Regions from separate parts of the Homo sapiens genome. Here regions 1 and 2 are each linked to region 3. The links are contacts of gene promoters, found by promoter capture Hi-C in human tissues and cell types (Jung and others, 2019). All regions are on one chromosome and are shown on one strand. Each heading gives the region's core, a stretch centred on a gene start or on the middle of the fragment in contact. The rest is flanking DNA. Distances are from core to core; before and after follow the strand shown. Region 1 holds the start of PLAUR (plasminogen activator, urokinase receptor). Region 2 has its middle 4.6 kb from the start of ZNF112. Region 3 holds the start of ZNF230 (zinc finger protein 230).

Evidence for each region. The method cuts DNA at HindIII sites, captures the fragments that hold promoters and counts their contacts. A contact is called where the count stands out against the background at its distance.
Region 1: the fragment with the promoter of PLAUR here is called in contact with the fragment with the promoter of ZNF230 in region 3 in 1 of the 25 tissues and cell types used here (IMR-90 fibroblasts).
Region 2: a contact is called between a fragment that was not itself captured here and the fragment with the promoter of ZNF230 in region 3, in 1 of the 25 tissues and cell types used here (stomach).

What each region holds. Positions count from the first base shown.
Region 1 is chr19:43,668,385-43,671,877 of GRCh38, forward strand. It overlaps PLAUR (plasminogen activator, urokinase receptor), which reads right to left and starts at 1,785. Exons shown (of 7, transcript NM_002659.4): 1 at 1,682-1,785. The coding sequence starts at 1,736. It overlaps LOC124904724 (a long non-coding RNA gene), which reads left to right and starts at 380. Exons shown (of 3, transcript XR_007067264.1): 1 at 380-799; 2 at 1,642-2,096. RefSeq lists silencers at 284-513, 554-633 and an enhancer at 1,554-1,853. The HindIII fragment of the contact is 20,050 bases long and covers 1-3,493 here.
Region 2 is chr19:44,359,632-44,362,938 of GRCh38, forward strand. It overlaps a transcript of ZNF112 not described here. Among named protein-coding and RNA genes, the nearest start is that of ZNF112, 4.6 kb to the left of the region's middle. The HindIII fragment of the contact is 6,327 bases long and covers 1-3,307 here.
Region 3 is chr19:44,001,414-44,004,818 of GRCh38, forward strand. It overlaps ZNF230 (zinc finger protein 230), which reads left to right and starts at 1,544. Exons shown (of 5, transcript NM_006300.4): 1 at 1,544-1,694. ZNF230-DT (ZNF230 divergent transcript) reads right to left here and starts at 1,457. Exons shown (of 3, transcript NR_110727.1): 1 at 852-1,457. RefSeq lists an enhancer at 1,307-1,816. The HindIII fragment of the contact is 9,118 bases long and covers 1-2,311 here.

The DNA.
Region 1 (3,493 bases), core at 535-3,034, 330 kb before region 3:
ACCTTATCTTCCCGCCCCCTAGCTCCTCCCCGATGCCATAACCCCGCCCCTAGCTCCTCCTCGAGGCTTTAGTCCCTCCCTCTAGCTCCTCCTTGAGATTCTAACTTCGCCCTTTAGCTCTCCCCGCCCCTAGTTTTCCCCTGAGGTCATAACTCCGCCCCAGTCCCTTCTTGAGGTTTCAGCCCCACCCTGTAGCTCCTCCCCGAGGTCGTAACCCCCGCCCCTTGGCCCCTTGAGGTCCTAGCCCAGCCCCGTAGCTCCTCCCCAAGCTTATAACCCCGCCCCTAGCCCCTCCTTGAGGTTCCAGCCCCGCCCTCTAGCTCCTCCCCGAGGTTATAATCCTGCCCCTCAAGAGTCTAGTCCCACCTTCTAGCTCCTCCCGAGGTTATAACTCCGCCCTCTGGTTACGCCTCGAGGTTATAACCCCGCCCTCTGGCTCCGCCTCGAGGTTCTAGCCCCGCTCCTAGCTCTTCCTCGGTCTGTAACCTCTCCCGTAGCTCTTCCTTGAGGTTCCAGCCCCGCCCTCTGGCTCCTCCCCGACACTCTCTCCCCGCCCCAGGCTCCGCCCCGAGATTGCAGCCCAGTCCCTAGGCCCGGTCCCCGACCTCCGGGCCTTCCCGGACATCCCTTTCCAGCTGCGCGTTCGGAGTATCCCGGAGCTGTTACTCATTCCCGGCCTCCCGCGGTCTCGAGCGCTTTCCGGGTTATTCATCGCGGCCCCAACACCCTGTGGCCACCCGCCCTGACTCAGTTCCTTCTCGAATTCCTCGACCCAGAGCCCCCCACATTTTCCGGGGAAGTAAGTGAGAGTCGCCTCAGTGAGAGGGAAAGGTCCTGAGGGACAGTCCCGGGTCTCCAGCACTGGCTCTGCGCCGCTCAGTCAGCCTCCCTTTGGGCCTTTTGTAAAAGGGGGTCCTGTCCCCCCGTTTCTCAGAGGGGGAGACCCAGCAGCGTGGAGAGCGCTGGGGGGCGCTGCAGGGTCAGATCCTGCGTATTCAAGCACTGGCTGTGTGATTTTAGGCCAGTTATCTAACCTCTCTGTGCCCTAGTTTCCTCTGCGAAACGAAATTAATAAAGTCCCATCGCCTAGTTTGAAATTGCAAGGAAGAGGCTTCGAAGAACTCCATTTAAAAAAAGAACACTTGGGCCGGGCGCGGTGGCTCACGCCTGTAATCCCAGCAGTTTGGGAGGCCGAGGCAGGTGGATCATCTGAGGTCAGGAGATTGAGACCATCCTGGCTAACAGAGTGAAACCCGGTCTCCACTAAAAATACAGAAATTAGCCGGGCGCGATGGCAGGCGCCTGTAATCCCAGCTACCCAGGAGGCTGAGGCAGGAGAATCGCTTGAACCCGGGCGGCAGAGGTTGCAGTGAGCCGAGATCGCGCCACTGCACTCCAGCCTGGGCGACAGAGTGAGACTCTGTCAAAAAAAAAAAAAAAAAAAAAAAAGCACTCACTAAATTATGTAAAGCTAAATGCCTTTGCTCCACTAATATTTCCTTAGCTACTGAGTGCCAGGTACTGCGCCGCGTGGCGTTGCACAAAGCACGAGAATTACTATTATTTGATTAGGGAGGATGCTGAGGACTGAACCGCATTCCTCCAACTCATCCTCTGACAACCCCCAACCCCCTCAATTAGACCCTGTTCCAGGCGCAGGCGTTCGGGACCCAGCCCCTACCTGGGACGCAGGTGTGGAGCAGCAGCAGCAGCGGCAGCAGCGGCGGGTGACCCATGTCGCGAGGGCAGCTCCTGTGCGCGGGGTCCCTGCACGTCTTCTCTCCTTCTGGCCTCAGGAAGGAGGCAGTTTTGTGGCCCCAGGGACTCCTCCCAGACGTTTTGCGAAAGAGCGAGTCAGCCCCAGATGCGTGGGCGCCTCCCCCTCCTCCCGTACGAACCTCCTCCGCCACAAACTTCCCTTCCCGGGGCGCGGCCGGCTGGTGGTGAAGGGGCTGGCTCGGCCCTGACTCATGGAGTTGTGATCACAGCTCTGTCCCCAGATTGCCTGGGTGCAAATCCCAGTTCTCTCTCTTCCTAACGTGGGACCCGGGGCAATCGCTCTCCACTGCTGTAAAATGAGGATAAAAACTTTGACGGTAAATATGAATGTGGCTGATTATTTGGCTAACAGGATTTTTGTTAGTTTTGTCAGGAGGGATACTGGTATTTTGGAAAATGTCCTTATCTAGAGATGCATCCTGAAATATGCATCTCTTAAACACTTAAAACACTTAACCCTTGCTTTGCTTCCCGCTGTGCCCCCAGCTCCTGGACCAGTGCCCAGCACGAAGTAGGTCCTTGGTAAATGTTAAAGGAATGTGTTGAGCCCTCCATTTTGGCCAGCAGCTATTCCAGGCATTGCACCTACATTAAAACACTTAATGGTGAAACCCCGTCTCTACTAAAAATACAAAAATTAGCCGGGCGTAGTGGCGTGTGTGTGTTACTTAGGAGGCTGAGGCAGGAGAATCGCTTGAACCCGGGAGGCGGAGGTTGGGTTGCAGTGAGCCGAGATCGTGCCACTGCACTCCAGCCTGGCAACAGAACAAGACTCCTTCTCACAGAAAAAAAAAAAAAAAAAAAAAAAGACACTTCAGCCAAAAAAGTAGATATCACTGTTACGACAATGGCTGTATGCTTAGGTGGGATTCTGGTTTTTGTTTGTTTGTTTGTTTTTGCAGATGCTTACTAGAGTATTTAGTGGTGAATGTTATTGATGTCTGCATTTTTTGTTGTTGTTGTTTTGGGGATTTTTGTTTTGTTTTTTCTTTTTCTTTTGTTTTCATTTTGATGTCTGTATTTATTTTATAATATTTTAGAAGAGGTCAGATGAGGTGGCTCATGCCTGTAACACCAATGCTTTGGGAAGCCAAGGCAGGAGGATCACTTGGGGCCAGGAGTTCAAGATCAGCTTGGGAAACATAAAGAGCCCTCATCTTTCCAAAAGAAATTAAAAATAAAATAAAATTAGCTGGGTGCAGTGGCCCGTACTTGTAGTCCTAGGTAGTTGGGAGGCTAAGGTGGGAGGACCGCTTGAACCTGGGAACTGGAAGCTGCAGTGAGCTATGATTGCACCACTGCACTCCAACCTGGGCAACAGAGCGAGACCCTGTCTCAAAAAAATAATAAATAAATAAATACTTGAGTAGAAAATAAAGGCAAAATAGCCAAATGGTTGTATCAATTATATAAAGGTAATCAGTATATAAGGGCATATTATGCCATTCTGTCTCCTTTTCTGTGGGTTTGAAAAGGCTTATAATAAGTTTTTTCTTTCTTTTTATTATTTATTTATTTATTTATTGAGACGAAGTCTCACTCTGTCACCCAGGCTAGAGTGCAGTGGTGCAATCTCGGCCACTGCAATCTCCGCCTCCTGGGTTCATGCAATTCTCCTGCCTCAGCCTCCTGAGTAACTGGGATTACAGGGGCACGCCAGCACACCCGGCTAATTTTTGTATTTTTAGTAGAGATGGGGTTTCACCATGTTGGT
Region 2 (3,307 bases), core at 539-3,038, 360 kb after region 3:
TTTCTGCTCTTTCAGAAATCTAGCTACCAACTCTACAATATGCTAATTTTTCTTTTCAAATAATTGATAAGGTTTCTATCTTCTCAGTGGACCCTAAATTACAAACTTGTTTAGAAATTAATCAAACCACTTTTAAGTAATCCATAGATAAAAGACTGTGGCATTGAAATTTGGTGTCATCAGTGAATTCTACCAAATATTTAAAGAAGAAACCATGTTCATCTCAAAATTATTCCTGAGAATAACAAAATAGGAAACACTTTCCAACTAACTTTATGAGGCCACTGTAATAACACTGACAAAATTTGTGAGAGGCTTCATTAGAATGGAAAATGACAGGTCTGGCCAGGCACGGTGGCTCATGCCTGTAATCCCAGCACTTTGTGGGGCTAAGGCAAGCAGATCATGAGATCAGGAGATCCAGACCATTCTGGCTAACACAGTGAAACCCCGTTTCTACTAAAAATACAAAAAAAAAGCCGGGCATGGTGGCACGTGCCTGTATTCCCAGTTATTTGGGAGGCTGAGGTGGGAGAATCGCTTGAACCTGGGAGATGGAGATTGCAGTGAGCTGAGATCGTGCCACTGCACTCCAGCCTGGGTGACAGAGGAGACTCCATCTCAAGAAAAAAAAAAAGAAAAGAAAAAAGAAAGAAAAAGAAAATGACAGGTCTATCTCGTCATAAATATACTTTCAAAAATGCTAAACAAAATGTTGCCAATGATATATAAAAGGGCAACCTAGGTATCAGAGAAAAAAAAAGTTTGATTAATCACCCATTTATCATAAGAAAATTTAGGCAACTAAGCAATAGTAAAGATCTACAAAAATGGCAACAAATATCAAAAGGAATAGTGAAATATTGAAAACATTTCCTCTATGATGGGGAACAAAATAATGATGTCCACCCCAATCATTTCTACTAAATACCACATTTGCTCCTTTATCCTGCAATCTTGCCAACTAATCTAATTAATTTTAATATTTTATGTGTAGATCTTTTGAATTTTATATGCATGCTCATGTTGACTTCAGATCTGCAACAAATGGGGCGCTGCAGCAACATGGGAACAGGGAAAATATTCAATACATGTTGCTGTTAAATTGAGTATTGTGAAATAAAACTGAAATTGACCTATACCTCCCACTATATGCAACAATCTAAGGCTGGTGGATTGTAGAGCCCGATTTGAAAAGCATTTCTTATGACACTTAAATCTACTCAGTGTATAAACCTATAAGAAATGTGTACCAAAATACACATATAAGAATGTTCATAGCAGGATCATTCATCACAATGACATGCTGAGAATACTCCAGATGTCTATCGATGATAGTATGGATAAATATTTTTGTTATTTACACAAGGTAAAAGCAAGGACATTGAACAAACTTTAGCTGTACATGCAATACCATGATGACTCCCATAAATATGTTGAGCAAAATAACTAGACAAACCCAGTAGATGCAGTGTGATTCCACTTGTACGAAGTTCATTAGACATGCAAAATTCATCAATAGGATGATTTTGGACACTTAAATAGTAAAAATATGAAGAAAAGCAAGGGAATCTTAAAACTTAGGGTAGTGGTTTCTTTTTATGGGGAAGAAAGCATCATGATGCTGTGAGAGTGGGGTGTTTGCAATTCTACCATGCTTCAATTTTTGTTGTGGGTGGTGATTATACAGCTGTTCATTTTATATTCATACTTTCACATGTATATTTATGATTCAGACACTTTTCTGAATGTGAGTGATATTTCAATCTGTAAAATCAATGATATATGACCAACAAACTGTGGTGCATCAATACAATAGAGTATTATTCAGCCATAAAAAGAAATGAGATATGAAGTTATGAAAACACATGGAATAACCTTAAATTCATATTGTTAATGGAAAGCAGCCAGTCTGTCAAAGCTACGTACTGTAATTCAACTATATGATAATCTGGAAAAGGCAAAACTAAAGGTCAGTAAAGTGATCAGTGGTTGTTAGAGGTTCAGGGAGATTAATTGATAGAGCACAGGGTATTTTTAAGCAGTGACACTATTCTGTGTGATACAGTATGGTTGATATAGGACATTATGCTTTGTCAAAACCCATGGAATGTACAACACAAAGAGTAAGCCCTAATGTAAACCACAGACTTTAATAATAATGTATCAAAATTGGTTCATTAGTTGTAATAAATATGCCACACACATGCAAGATGCAAACAATAGGAGAAACTGGGCAGGGGAAAGGAGAGTATATGGGAAATATTAATACTTTCTCAGTTTTTCTGAGCAGTTTTCTGTAACCCTAAAACTGCTCTTAAAATAAAGTCTATTTTAAAAAATCAATGATATGTTTCAAAGGAAACTGAATATATGGCATAGAACTTTTTCAGAACTTAGAGGGAAGGGCTAAAAATAATGAGAAACTCTATAATGAATATGAACATACTGATCAGGTGTATCTTATAAGCTAATGAGAAAAAATGAGGATTAGAGAAGGAAGCAGATTGTAATAAATAAATCATTAAGAAAGAATAAACAATTTATCCACATGGGCAAAATCTCATATTGGAAGGAGGAGAAGAAGATGGAGGAGAAGGGGGAGGAAGGTGAGGGTATGTAGGAGGAGGAGAAGTAGGAGGAGGAAGAGTAAGAGAAAAAGGAGGAAGAGACTCGTAGAGATGCACTTGCAGACATTGAGAAATTTTTTAATGGCAAGGCTGAAGACTAAAGAATTGAGTCAATTTCAAAGGAATGAAAAAATAAGCTTTGCATTTTAATTATTGTCTGCAACATTAAAAGTACTAATAAAATATAAAAATAATCTATGGGATTTTTGAGGTGAAAAGATTGATCCTTCTATGGTCAGAGAATGTTTTGTTCATGTGCACTATTCTTGGCATACAAGATTCAGTTGTGAATCACTTCTAAATTCTTTCCGGAAAATATTCTTCAAGACATATTACAGGCCTTTGACAACAACACAGATAAAGCGTCCACAGACCGTCTTCCTAGTTTATTTACATAGAAATGCTGGATAAAATGTGAATGTGAAAATATCATTTATTTGAATAGGAGAATGTTTGAGGGCACACATATTAAAAAGAAAAAGAAAAAAAGAAACAGATATTATTTATTTGTTCCATTATATCCCCCACTACCCACTCTCATTTTCTCCCCTGCCGCATCAGTAACCAGGTCGATCTGTTTAATGTGTGCCTGTTGTTGGTATGTCTTTCTGGCAAAATGTGTGGAATTTCGGATGCATATATATATATCTTGTGTTATAAAACTCTGTTAAAAATTT
Region 3 (3,405 bases), core at 294-2,793:
GCTATAACTGGCATATGAATAGTGATCACTCAATTTTCAGAGAGCGGATGTTTGGCATCAAAAGTTTGGCACAGTCACCTTATTTTTGTGTCTAAACAAAATTTTGAAAAGTTTTTAGTTTAGAAAAATAGGTAAACAGTAGACTCCATTTTTTTTAAAAAGAAGAATATTGGTTTATAGGCCAATGTATGTTTATAGGGAGAAAAAAAGTTACCTTCAAAAGAGCAGGTTTTTAGATGAATTGTTTCCTAATTTAGCTTTATACTGTTATTATTTTTTAACCAATGCCAGTTTTTAAATTGCTAACTATAATAAAGAAATTATGTTTCACCAAGAAATAAGAAGAAACTTAAAAAAAAAAATCTTTAATTATTGAGGTATCTGTTGCCTAGGCTGGAGGGCAGTGGTGGCATCATAGCTCACTGCAGCCTCAATCAAACTCCTGGGCTTCAGCAATCCTCCCACCTCAGCCTCCTGAGTACTTGGAACTTGTAGTCCCAAGATCAGGCCACCATGCCTGGCCAGTTAAAAAAAAATTTTTATAGAGACGAAGTCTCCCTGTATTTCCCTGTCTGGTCTCCAATTCCTGAGCTCAAGGGAACGTCCTGCCCTGGCCTCCCAAAGGGTTGGCATTACAGGTTTGAGCCACTGCGCTTGGCCAGGAAGAAAACTCTTTATAAGACATGCTCCTTCACCTATAGAATCCTCCCGTTTTACTGCATTTACAATCTCAATGTAAGATTGATACCAATGCCTAGCTCTTCATCAGTCATTATTGCTCTGAGGTACTGAGCAATTCACTACATTCGCTGAAATTTGATGTTTCTACATCTAAGGAGAAATATGAATACCATGAAAAGTTTATGGGAAGATAGCTATTCCATGACGACACCGCTTCTCCACTAGTAGCTGTGATCTTAAATGGGGGTGGCTTTTCCTGCCAAACCAGTGGTCCCACAGCTTCTGGAGTAGGGGCTGGTGTCTTCCTGCTCCTCATTGCCCCTGCCAAACCATTCCACCTGGCTCATCCTTTAAACCGTTAGTTTTAACCTCCCATCGTCAGATTATCCTAATCCTTGAAGATTTTATCTCCTCGTTTGTTCTCTTCCCAATAACACTCCTGTCATCGTGGGAGGCGTTTAGACTTCAGGAATTCCTGTCTATACACTATTTTCGCTCAAAGACTCAGGAAGAGAGACGGACGACTCACAGGGTCACAGTCCACATTCCCCACCAGGCGCTCAGAGATATGGAATACGTTCCCGGTGGGCACTGCGGTGTGTGTAGTCAAGGACCACCGCGGAGTCCAACGCTTCCCGCTGAAGAGTGAGATTATAGACATTTTCCTTTGGCATTGGAGGAAGCGGAGTCCAGACACACTCTGAGTCGCGGGCAAGTTGGCTCAGGCGGGTGGACGAGTGAATTCTGGGAACTGTAGTCCATCAACTTCATGGAATGGCGGACCCTTTGGCTCAAGCAGTTGAACCGGGGAATTCTGGGAAGTGGAGTCCAGACGCTCTGTGGAGACGCGAGCACTTCCGGTGTGTGAGCCTGCGGTTGCTACATAACCGCGTAGTTTGAGCCATTTCTGCGTCTGGCGGGTCCTTCTGAACTTGTCACCTTCGCTTGGGGTCGCAACGACCCGATGATCGATGATCCAAGCAAGGGAAAAGAAGCCTTGGCGGAGAGCGGAGGTTTGGTGGGGGCGGGGAATGGGGTTTTTTTCCCGTCCACGGAAGCTTTCTGGGATGGGGGTGCTGTGCTCGCATCCCGGGGGTTGGAATTGGCGGGGTCCTCTGTGCCCTGCTGTGAGCGTTTCCAGGACTTTGACCTCGCTCAGCCTGCCTCTCTCCACCCTACCTGTGCGACCGCTTTCTCGCAGTGTGACGTGGAGTGTTACTCAATGTCCTTATACTTTCCATTGCTGTTTTTGGTAATGGGGACATTAGAACCATCCTAGTAGAATCGTTTTTGGGAACTGAAAGAGATAACGCAAATGAGAACCTTAAAGCAGTCCCTGTCACTTGGTGACTGGTGGTCTCTTGTTAACTTCCCGAAGAGGTCAGGTCCCCGGGTGGAGTCATAGCTTCAGCTGCAGGGGCCCTGGTCCTTCTCCCTAATCCCTGCAGGACGCTGGATGATCCCGGGAGGCCTTCTGACCTCTTTTTAGGAAAGCGAGTTGCGTCCGCTTCCACGAAGGGCGGGGAGCATTTAACTTTTATGGGGGACCGCGATGCAGTCAGGGTATTTCACAACTTTCGCCTTCCCCAGCCTGACCTTTCTAAAAGAGCTGCAGGGAGGGGACTTCTTGGCTACTGAGGGCAAATCTCTATGTGATTGGTCCTTGGCTTTTTTCCTTTATAGAGATGTTCACCCAACCGAGAGTGTGTCCTCGGGAATGGGTGTTGATAATCATTAAGCCGTAATTGGTAACTTCATTCTAAGTGCTTTATACAAATAAATTTAGGCCACACTGTGGCTCTGTGAAGTATTGCTTTTCTTTGTTTTAAAAATGAGAGTGAGACACAGGGTGCATAGCAGCCAACTAGTGAGAGGTAGAGCTGGGGTTGGCACCTAGGCAGTCCAGGTCAGAGCCTGAGTTGATCACCTCTTGGATACATTCTCATTGAGGCAGAGGAACTAGCTGGACTCGTAGGGAAAGCAAGTTAGGACCTGATTGAAAGGACGTTGAGAGCAAGGCTCGTGGGCTTGGACGTCTAGGAATTTTTAAAAATTTCTCAACTATTTTGTTTCATGTTTTCCAAGTATTTCGTACTGTTGTGGAACTGTATCATTGTGGAAAAGTCTGAAATAGGAGAAATGAGAGTAGAAAAAGTTTTTTAATTACCCATGTATCCAAGATGTAAAGGTAGTAACTGTTAAGCTTCTAATTGATTTCTTTTGTCTTTCTTTGTGTCTACTTCTATATTTGTTGATAAACATTTTTTTAAAAATTGTTATATTTTAATGTGTTTTCCCATATGTCTTTTAACTATAGAAAATTTTAAATATTGCTAATAGAGACTAAACTAGTGAGGCTGGTTGTGGTGGCTCATGCCTATAATCCCAGCACTTTGGGAGGCCAAGGCAGGTGGATCACTTGAGGTCAGTAGTTTGAGACCAGCCTGGCCAACATGGTGAAACCCCATCTCTACCAAAAATACAAATATTAGCCGGGCGTGATGGCACGTGCCTGTAGTCCCAGCTACTCTAGAGGCTGAGGCAGGAGAATTGCTTAAACCCGGGAGGTGGAGGTTGCAGTGAGCCAAGATCACGCCACTGCACTCCAGCCTGGGCAACAGAGTGAGACTCAAAAAAAAAAAAAAAAAAAAGAATAAACTAGTGAACTGCCATATTATATAATGCTCAATTTTATTATTCCCATTATCCTTATGACTATTTCCT